Regions from separate parts of the Homo sapiens genome. Here region 1 is linked to region 2. The links are contacts of gene promoters, found by promoter capture Hi-C in blood cells and fetal thymus (Javierre and others, 2016). All regions are on one chromosome and are shown on one strand. The core of a region is centred on a gene start or on the middle of the fragment in contact, and the rest is flanking DNA. Distances in the headings are between cores, read along the strand shown. Region 1 holds the start of PFN3 (profilin 3). Region 2 has its middle 7.1 kb from the start of N4BP3.

Region 1 (4,916 bases), core at 787-3,286, 710 kb before region 2:
GATAGGCAGGAGTAAGGGTGGGTCTGGGTATATGACTGTGCAGCTGTTTGTGCATAGATGTTGGTGCCTGCGTTACTGAATTTGCACACCTCCTTGCCACCTTCCTTCCTCCAAGATACCATCTCCTCATCCTAACCCAGGTCTTCGGCACCACCACAATTAATTCCCTTCCCAACACTTGCCTGATGGAAAAAAAACAAAGGAATTAAAACTCTCCTCAGGCATTCGGAAGTCTTTTTGCTCTCCATCAATGGCAAAGGGAAGACCAAGCCAGGGGGTTCAGCAGCACCATCTCCCCTCAAAGACTGGCTGCAAGAGCAGCCTGCCCTGCCCAGGCCAGGTGCAGTTCCAGAGAAGCCAGCCCTGCAGGCTCACCCCAACCATCTGCCTGGCCCTACCTTAGTGAGTCCAAACCACAATTCAAACTCCCTGGAAGCCCCTCCTAGGCCTGGGGCCACCCCCAAGGCAAGTGTAAGGAGGATTCTGCACCCCCACCCCCTGACCCCCACCTGGCTGAACTTCCTCTGGTCTCCCTCTGCCCTCTAAATTCACCCACCTCAGCCACACATCACTCCTTCCTGCTGGGATAAGATCAGGGCTCCAGAATAAGTGACAGGTGGGGTCTGCCATCAGGGCCGCTGGGGGAGGGGACGGGAAGGGTGGGGGTGGGCAAGAGAGGCCATGCCCTGGGCCCCAGCACATGGAGGGCAGGGACCAGACACCCTCCCTCCCACTTTTGTCCACTATCTTTGGGCAATAAACCAGGCCTCAAACTTACCCAAGCTTTTCAATTCCCCCTCCTCCATAGGTCACCCTGAAACTGAGGCCTGCAGAGTGAGACTCCCGGGTAGGGATGCCAGAGTTCCTCCCTCTAGTCCAGGGACTCCTGCGGGGCCTTTTCGAAGGCCTGGGGAAGGCAGGATGTAAGGTCTCAAACCCAATTGCGATGGTCTTGGACATGAGCCCTCTCAGTAGGCTCCCCTTGGAGGAATGTGGGCAGAGATGCAGAGGCCTGTGAGCCCCAGAACTGCTTTACAAGCCACCAAGCCCATCCTGTCACCCACTCACAACTTGCTAGTGCTTGAGGTATGAGTGGAGGGGGGAGGAGCAAATTGGCCTCCAGCCTGACACCCTGATGGGGAGAGGTGTTCGCGGGATGGGGAGGGGGCTCCCTTTACTTGTCCTGCCTAATGTGTGGGAATATCTCTGAGAAAGGACGCTAAGGCTGAAACAGACTTTGAGAAGCCCCCACCCTTGGACTCTTCCTCAGCTGCGGAGTCCCTAGGACCCTGGGAACGCGCCAAGGAGCAGCAGTCAGGCCAGGAGCCTCTGCAAGGCGTCCATGGGAGAGCAGGGTGTAGGGCACAGGGGCCTGGCAGCCTCTAGACTCAAAATCCCGGCTCCACCAGGTAACCGTCTTGCAAAGACCAGTTTCCTTATTTACAACTCCCCCCACCGCGCAAGTGGAGGAGGAGCCAGCCGCGCCCAGGTCACAGTTTATTTGGCCCGCGCTACCAGTGGGCGGCCTGGCTGGCCGGCTAGGCGCCCTGCATGCGCAGCCCGCGTATGAGTTCGTGCACCGTCTTGTTGAGGATGCCCCCATGTACGCCGCGTCGGCCCATTAGCACCAGGAGCGCGCGCGGCGCACGGCCCACGCACACGGCGCGCGCGTCCAGCCCCTTGGTGCGTGCGTCCAGCACGCCGTCACCCTCGGCCAGCAGGTGGTCGCGGATGACGCAGCAGCGGCGGCCCCCCACGCTCAGGCCCGCCTGCAGGAAGGTGTGCCTGTCCGGCCCCGTGAGCACGCCCACCTCCTGCGGCGAGATGGCCGCCAGCAGGCCCCCGGGCCGCGAAGCCCACACGCAGCTGTTGTCCGCATGGCCCACGATGGCCACGTCGTCGATGCGCTGGTCCCGCAGCACTGCACTGATGTAGACCTTCCAGTCGCCCATCGCGCTCCGAGTGCGCCCAGCCGCCTCGCACCTCTCGGGGAAATATAGAGGCGCCACGCGGGGAAGGCCTGCGGCGCTGTGAGGCAGGCTGGGCGGGGCTGTGACGTCACACAAGGCGCCGTCCCGGAGCGACCACCCAGGCTGGGGCACGTGGGGCGTGGGCGTTTAGTGCTGTCGCAGTTCTAAGGTTATCCTGTAGGATGGGTTTGGCAGAGCGCAGCGGCTCACTCCTGTAATCCCAGCGCTTTGGGAGGCCGAGGCGGGCGGATCGCTTGAACTCAGTAGCGAGATTATAGTAAACTATTATAGGATCGTGTCGCTGCACGCCAGCCTGAGCCACAGAGCGAGGCCCCGTCTCTAAAAAAGCAAAAACAAATTTTAATTAAAAAAAATTTTTTTGAGATGAGGTCTCACTATGTTGCCCAGGCGGGTCAGGAAGTCTTGAGCTCAAACAATCCTCCCGCCTCAGCCTCTCAAAGTGACGAGATTACAGGCGTGAACCACCGCATCTGGCCAATCTATTTTTAATTTTAAAAAGCTGGTTTTGTGAAAAAAGGATGTTGTGTCTGGACAGCCAGACCTTCACTTGTAAGGGAACCAACCATTCAACCCCCAGATTGTGGTTCTTAAGCATGAGAGAACATCAGAATCCCCCGCAAGGCTGTTAAACAGATTGCTGGGCCCCACCCCAGACTTTCTGTTCAGCAGTATAAAGTGTAGCCCGAGAATTTGTTATGTGTAACAAGTTCCCTGGTGATGGTACTGCTAGCCAAGGGACTCTCAGACCCACTACACTAGTGCGTGTTGGGGTGGGGACAACGATATGTCACCCAGCCCTTAGGGTCCACGCCACAGTCAATGCTCTTTTTTTCTATTTTCTTTTTTCTTTTCTTTCTGTCTCTCTCTTTCCCTCCCTCTGTTCCTTCCTTCCTTCCTTCCTGCCGGTTCAAGTGATTCTCCTGCCTCAGCCTCCTGAGTAGCTGGGACTACAGGCGCACGCCGCCGTGCCCGGCTAATTTCTTGTATTTTAGTAGAGACGGGGTTTCATCGTGTTGCCCAGGCTGGTTTCGAACTCCTGAGCAATCCACCTGCCTTGGCCTCTTAAAGTGCTAGGATTACAGGCGTGAGCCACCGCGCCCGGCCAATGCTAAGTATTTCTAACCACGATTCTCAACCTTGGCTGTACATGGAATTATCTGGGGAGTTTTACAAATATACCACTACCCATGCCCCATCCCTAGACATACTGATTTAATTGGTCTGAGGTGGAACTTGGGCATAGATTGGCTCAAAACGCTCCCCAAGTGATCTTAATGTATGGTCTGAGAACTACTGCTCTGTAAACAAAATGTTAGTTTCTCATAAGGAATAACATGCAGCTTCTCCTTGCACAGGGCTTGGTATACAGTATCCTAGGCTCAGTAAACATTAGCTGGGCTGGCATCTAGATTTTGCACGTTAAGATCTCATAGACCTTGTTCTCTGAGAGCTGTGGAGAAGCTGTGAATCGCTTTTCTGTCTTGGCATTTCCCGGCGGGACCCATGAAGAAAAGAGCTTTCCTTCTCAGCATTTTCAAAGCACTTTATTGAGTTCCTGCGCCATCCTGGCGCGGAGCTGGCCGCACTGGGGGAATGGGACACAATCTTGCCTTCCATGCCCCAGCCACTCTCTCACTGCGGAATCACCAAGGAGGGAAAGATGAGTCCCTGAGCAATCAGGAAACGGTGTGCTCCCGGATCCAGGCCAGGTAGTAGGCCACATCGGTGTAGACGCCTGGCTTGTTGCGGTCACCACAGCCCGATCCCCAGCTGATGATGCCTTGCAGGGTGAGCCGGCGCTCTGCAGCTTGGTCCTCACACACCAGCGGGCCTCCGGAATCACCCTGGGTCGGAAACACGCAGCTCAGCGCTGTGGACCTGAGATTTGTGCCTGACGGCCTCGGGGAAGGGCGCCAACCGGGCTAAGAGCTCACCTGGCACGCATCGGTGCCGCCCTCGAGGAACCCTGCGCAGAGCATGCCGGGGAGGATGGAGGATCCGTGCACGTCCGGGGCTGAGCAGCGCTCCAGGGAGAGGAACGGTACCTGCGCCTCCTGCAGGAAGCTGGCATATTCCTCCGCCCCTGCGAACACAGAGCGCCTTCTTCACACCCCATCTGACAACGCTTGCCGCCCGGACGATGGACAAAGCTGCTCCAGGCGCTTGTAAACCCACTCATGCCCTTCCTCTCTCGCAGCAAGCCCGAAGGGGAGGAGGTGCCATTAATTCAATTTCATAGGCAAGGAGGCTGAGGTCCAGAGAAAAGCCAGGATTTGAATGGGCGGAGCGGAAACAGAAACCCCTCCCCCACCACCCATCCAGAGTCGCAGAACCTGGCTCCCACACTAGCCCGGAGCGCGGGGCCAGCGTCCTAGTTGGCCTTTGCAGCCCGGCGCCCAGAGGGAACCAAGAGCAAGTTCGATTCTCCCTGTATCCCCAGGAGATTTGGGGATCCCAGCAGTGAATCCCAGGCCCTGGGATTCTACCTGGGATTCACCTACACATTCTCACAACCCATCAGGTCAGCGCCACCCATTCTGTAGGCACCCGGAACGATACCAAAGTCGCGGGCTTCTTCCGCCTAACCCAGTGATCAAAGGTCTCCTCCCCTACCCCTGCCCCTAGCAGTTGTGCCTACCCTCGAACTGGTGGCCCCAGCCGGCCACCTGGCAGAGCGTGGTCTCGGAGGGTCGCGCGGCGCCGCTTGGCAGGCACACCGGCTGAACGTAAGGCGACAGGAGCGCGCAGCTGCCGTCCGCATCCTCCTGAAGGCGCAACAGAGCTAACCCGGGCGGAGAGGAGCGTGAGGCGGGGACGCCGGGGCCCCAAGCTCTCTTCCCGTCCCCGCGGGGCGCCCCCACGCACCCAGGTCGTGCTGGTAGCTGACGGGCGAGAAGGCCTCGTGCAAGCGGTAGGAGCGCACGG
Region 2 (4,824 bases), core at 892-3,391:
CGGGAACAAAGCAGGATAGGGATTTTCACAGTGCTTTTCTATACGATGTCTGTAATCTACAGATAACATCAACCATTAGGTCGGGGTCGATCTTTAACTACCAGGCCCAGGGTGTGGTGCTGGGCTGTCTGCTTGTGGATTTCATTTCTGCCTTTTAGTTTTTACTTTTTCTTTCTTTGGAGGCAGAAATTGGGCATAAGACAATATGAGGGGTGGTCTCCTCCCTTAGTATCAGGACCTTTTCTAACGGGGGACTCCTCTGTCAGGCACTTCGATCCAGAGCTCTTCTGCTGGTGCCCTCTGCCCAATCGCCTTCCTCCCCATTTTTTTTTTTCCTTTTTGAGACAGGGTCTTGCTCTGTTGCCCAGGCTGGTCACTGTTCCCTCTGGTGCATTCTTTGTCCCCGTCAACCTGGTAAGCTCCAGGGGCTGGCAGCTGGCACAGAGTAGGAGGCTGCACTCCCTGACTTTTCTATGCTGCACACAGTCCTGTGCCCACCCTGTCCTCAGACCTGCCAGGGCCATGACCAACCTGCCAAGGGCATGGGAAACTGTGTGTAAGACAGCTCTAGGAGGAGGTGGAGCAGGCGGAAGGTAGGGGAAGCTGCTGCCCCAGTAGGTTTAGAGGGAGGGTGGGGTGGGGGTGTGGCAGGGCCAGGCAGGTGAGGGTGTGTGGGTGGGGGTGTGTGGGGGAGGGTGTGGGTGGGGGTGTGCGGGTGAGGGTGTGTGGGTGAGAGTGTGTGAGTGCCTGCCTGGCTCTCCTGGGTGGGGCTGGATGAATGTTTGGGCACAGGCAGCAGCTGTCACATGGCCTGGCTGCGGGTTTGGGACAGAAGCCAGGTAGGTGGGCTGTATCAGGCACAGCTACAAACTGTGCCAAGGAAGCGGACCAGAGCAGGGGCCCGGGGAAACTTCTGCCTTGGCAGAAGATATTGGGGGGACAGGATGATTTGGGGAGGTCTTCCAAGGCCCATGGTGCTTCATGGAGCCAGGGCCCAGGGCAGGGAGGGCTATAACCCTGGCTTGCCTGATTGGCTGAACACAGATAGATGGAAGGGGGTGTGAGCAGACCGCTAGGTGGATGCCTAAGTGAGGAAGGAATGGGTGGCCACGTGGCTGAGACCCCCAAGACCAGGACCCCACTGTCAGGCCTGTGGCTTCCATAGGCCAGTGGGAAGCGTTCCCCTTTGGGCACTGAGGCCATCGGCTTCAGCTTCACACCCTTTTCCAAACAGACAGAAGTCCTTCAGGTAACCTCAAAAGTCACTTCTCCTGGCCTTCCCCAGAGGGGAAAGGAGAGAGCGGTGCTTGTGGGCAGGGGGCCCTCGGAGCTGGTGGAGGGCACAGCAGAGAGACTGCCTGCATGTGGGAGGCCCCCAGCAGACCTTGCCTAGACGTCAGTCCTCGTTTGAGGCAAACTGTAAAATTATTACAATTTAGGCCAGGCACAATGGCCCATGCCTGTAATCCCAGCACTTTGGGAGGCCATGGCAGGAGGATCTCTTCAGCCCAGGAGTTTGAGCCTGCAGTGAGCTATGACTACACCACTGCACTTCAACCTGGGCAACAGAGGAAGACCCTGTCTCTAAAATAAATAAATAGGCTAGTCGTGGTGTCTCATGCCTGTAATCCCAGCACTTTGGGAGGCTGAGACATGTGGGTCACCTGAGGTCAGGAGTTCGAGACCAGCCTGACCAATATGGTGAAACCCCATCTCTACTAAAAATACAAAAATTAGCCAGGCATGGTGGCATGTGCCTGTAGTCCCAGCTACTCAGGAGGCTGAGACAGGAGAGTTGCTTGAGCCCAGGAGGTGGAGGTTGCAGTGAGCTGAGATTGCACCACTGGACTTCAGCCTGGGCAACAGAGCAAGACTCCGTCTCAAAAAAAAAAAAAGAACCCTGGAGTGTGGGAGGGTTTGTGTGGAAGTAAATAAAATCAGCCTCTGCTGGGTAACTTTTAAAGGCAGGCAGTGGGTACGTGGGAGTTTTTAAAAATTCCCTCCCTTTACCTTTGTGTATATTCGAAAATTGTTGTAATTAAGCTTTAAAAATAATCTAGGTAAAGTCTTGGTTAAAAAAAAAAAAATAGTGGCCCATGGCCAGCACCTTTTGGACAACTCTGGACTGTGACAATCCAAGTCACTGTATTACACAGATTTTTTTTTTTTCTGTCTCTTTTTTTTTTTAAGAGGTGGAGTCTTGCTCTGCTGCCCAGGCTGGAGTGCAGTGGCCCAGTCACAAGCTTCTAACTCCTGGCCTCAAGCAATCCTCCTGGCTCAGCTTCCTGGGTAGCTGGGACTGCAGGTGTGCACCACTACACCTGGCCTAAAACATTTCAAATCATGGTAAAATGCACACAAAACCTAACTATTTTTTGAAACAGAGTCTTGCACTGTCGCCCAGGCTGAAGTACATCAGTCCTCTCTCAGCTCCCTGCAAACTCTGCCTCCCGGATTCAAGGGATTCTCGTGCCTTAGCCTCCCGAGTAGCTGGGATACAGGTGTGTACCACCATGCCTGGATAATTGTTGTATGTTTAGTAGAGACGGGGTTTTGTCATGTTGGCCAGGCTGGTCTTGAACTCCTGGCCTCCTGTGATCCACGCACCTCAGCCTCCAAAAGTGCTGGGAGATTTCAGGCATGAGCCACCACACCCGGCCTCTTAACCATCTTGAAGTGTCCAGTTCAGTGGTGTGAAGCACATGTGCACCGTCGTGCCACCCATCCCCGGAGCTCTCTTCATGGTGCTGCTGTAGTTTCACAATGACTCCTCCAGACTTCGTCCACCCCCAACCCCTTGCCATAAATCACTGCAACTGAGGGACTGCAGCCCAGGAGTTTCTGGGCAAAGTACCGTGTTACCATCTGGGGTGGCAGCTCCACCTGGACTTAGCTGTGGGGCTGGTCCAGGTTTCCGGTGGCCTGTAACCCCAGCACTTAGGGAGGTCGGGGCAGGTAATCTCACACCTGTAGTCCCAGTGGTGCATGAGTGGGCCAGTTGGACTGCCTGGACTTCCGGGGTGTGAGTCCTCATGGGCTCCTGAAGGTCTGAGGTCTGCCCCGGGGCAGACACCTGAGCAAGTCATGGCAGCTCTCAACTTCCACCCCAACCTCCTGCCTGGGGCTGCCCCAGTCACCCCTGGGGGTGGGGGGACCCAGGGAAGAGGAAGCAGGAGGAGTGAACGAAGGCTCCTCTCCAGCTCTGCTGACTCGGGGAGGCAGCCCAGGTCCAGGAGTCCACTTTGACCCCAGGTGCGAGAGTGGGGAGGGCTGGGGAGGCTGGGTGGGTGCACAGCCCCACTGGCTCTGCCCCACAGCCACAATACCCCTCTGTGACACAGTTTTAGAACAATCTTGGGCTGGATGTGGCGACTCACAGCTGTAATCTCAACACTTTGGAAGGCTGAGGCAGGAGGATTGCTTGAGCCCAGGAGTTTGAGACCAGCTTGGGCAACATAGACCTTGCCTCTATTTTACAAAAAAAAAATTTTTTTTTTTTTTGAGACGGAGTTTTGCTCTTGTCACCCAGGCTGGAGTGCAGTGGTGTGATCTTGGCTCACTGCAACCTCCACCTCCCGGGCTCAAGCCATTCTCCTGCCTCAGCCTCCCAAGTAGCTGGGATTATAGGTGTGCACCACCACCCCTGGCTAATTTTGTATTTTTAGTTGAGATGGGGTTTCTCCATGTTGGCCAGGCTGGTCTTGAACCTCTGACCTTAAGTGATGTACCCACCTCAACCTCCCCAAGTGCTGGGATTATAGGCATGAGCCACTCTACCCAGCCTAAAAAACAATGTTAAAAATAAATAAAAATTTGTAAAAGACCAATCTTGGAGGACTGGCAGAGCTAGGGCCGGCACCAGGAGTTATCTGTTAGCCTGCGCTTTGCAAGGTCTGAAACCCTCAGATGCTGCCTCTCCAAGAATGCCCAGCTCTCCTCCCTCAGGCTGGGGCCTGGCCCAGCTCCAGGGGAGAGAGGACAAGGGAGGGCAAGGAGTGAAAGGCGGCCAGGGGACACAAAGCTGTCAGGTCCCTGGACATGCCCAGGGGATGCTGCCTGCTTTACCAATGAAGAATCCGAGGCTCAGGAAGGTCACCAGGAAGTCACGGACAGGACTGGGATTCAGAGCCAGGGCTGCCTTGCTTCAGCTCCTCCTCCTGGTTAGAAAACAGTCCTGAATTGCCTTTTTGCAGATGGTGTCTTAGAGCTGAGCATGGCTAACTGTCAGGCACTGTAAGAAGAACTGGGGGAGTCTGGACATGTGCTGGCCACCAGTCCCCCACACTCAGGGCTCACTGTCTCTTGAGGGTGACAGAGGATAACGCACTGTGACAAGCACCATCACAGCAAAGAAACAGAAAAAGTCCGGAGCGGCAAGAGGATGGGGTGATTAATTTTGCCTTGAGGGTAGAAGGAGGGGCCTTGAGGACAGTGGGTGCTCTTAATGGACTATTCCAACAACCAGCCACTTATGGATGAGGACACAGAGGCAGCTCCCAGAGCAGAGATGCACAGAAGCAGTAGCAGTGGCTTGGCCCGAAGACTAAAGGAGTTGCAGGGCCAGTCTTGAAGCTGGGACTACACCTCTCGGGCAGAGGAGTGTGGGGACAGAATGCGTAGGCTACAAGGCTCCCTCTGGGGCAGAGTCGGGGGTGGCTGGGCAGTAGGAAGCCAAGGCAGGTTGTTGCAACAGTCAAGAAGAAAGGTGATGAGGCCAGAGGTGGTGGCCAGAGAGATGAGGAAATTCCTCCTCACCAGGATGGCTGCAGGGTGATACAGTCCTGGCCACTCACAGACAGCATGGATGCAGGAAGACAGACCACA

The links. The method cuts DNA at HindIII sites, captures the fragments that hold promoters and counts their contacts. A CHiCAGO score of 5 or more calls a contact.
Region 1: the fragment with the promoter of PFN3 here is called in contact with a fragment that was not itself captured in region 2 in 1 of 17 cell types (total B cells); the score reaches 5.7 in total B cells.

What each region holds. Positions count from the first base shown.
Region 1 is chr5:177,398,625-177,403,540 of GRCh38, forward strand. It overlaps PFN3 (profilin 3), which reads right to left and starts at 2,037. Exons shown (of 1, transcript NM_001029886.3): 1 at 1,485-2,037. The coding sequence starts at 1,952. The coding sequence ends at 1,539. SLC34A1 (solute carrier family 34 member 1) reads left to right here. Exons shown (of 13, transcript NM_003052.5): 13 at 1-224. It overlaps F12 (coagulation factor XII), which reads right to left. Exons shown (of 14, transcript NM_000505.4): 11 at 4,857-4,916; 12 at 4,630-4,773; 13 at 3,926-4,074; 14 at 3,517-3,835. The coding sequence ends at 3,668. RefSeq lists an enhancer at 3,346-4,203. The HindIII fragment of the contact is 6,138 bases long and covers 782-4,916 here.
Region 2 is chr5:178,103,988-178,108,811 of GRCh38, forward strand. No RefSeq gene overlaps it. Among named protein-coding and RNA genes, the nearest start is that of N4BP3, 7.1 kb to the right of the region's middle. The HindIII fragment of the contact is 200 bases long and covers 2,042-2,241 here.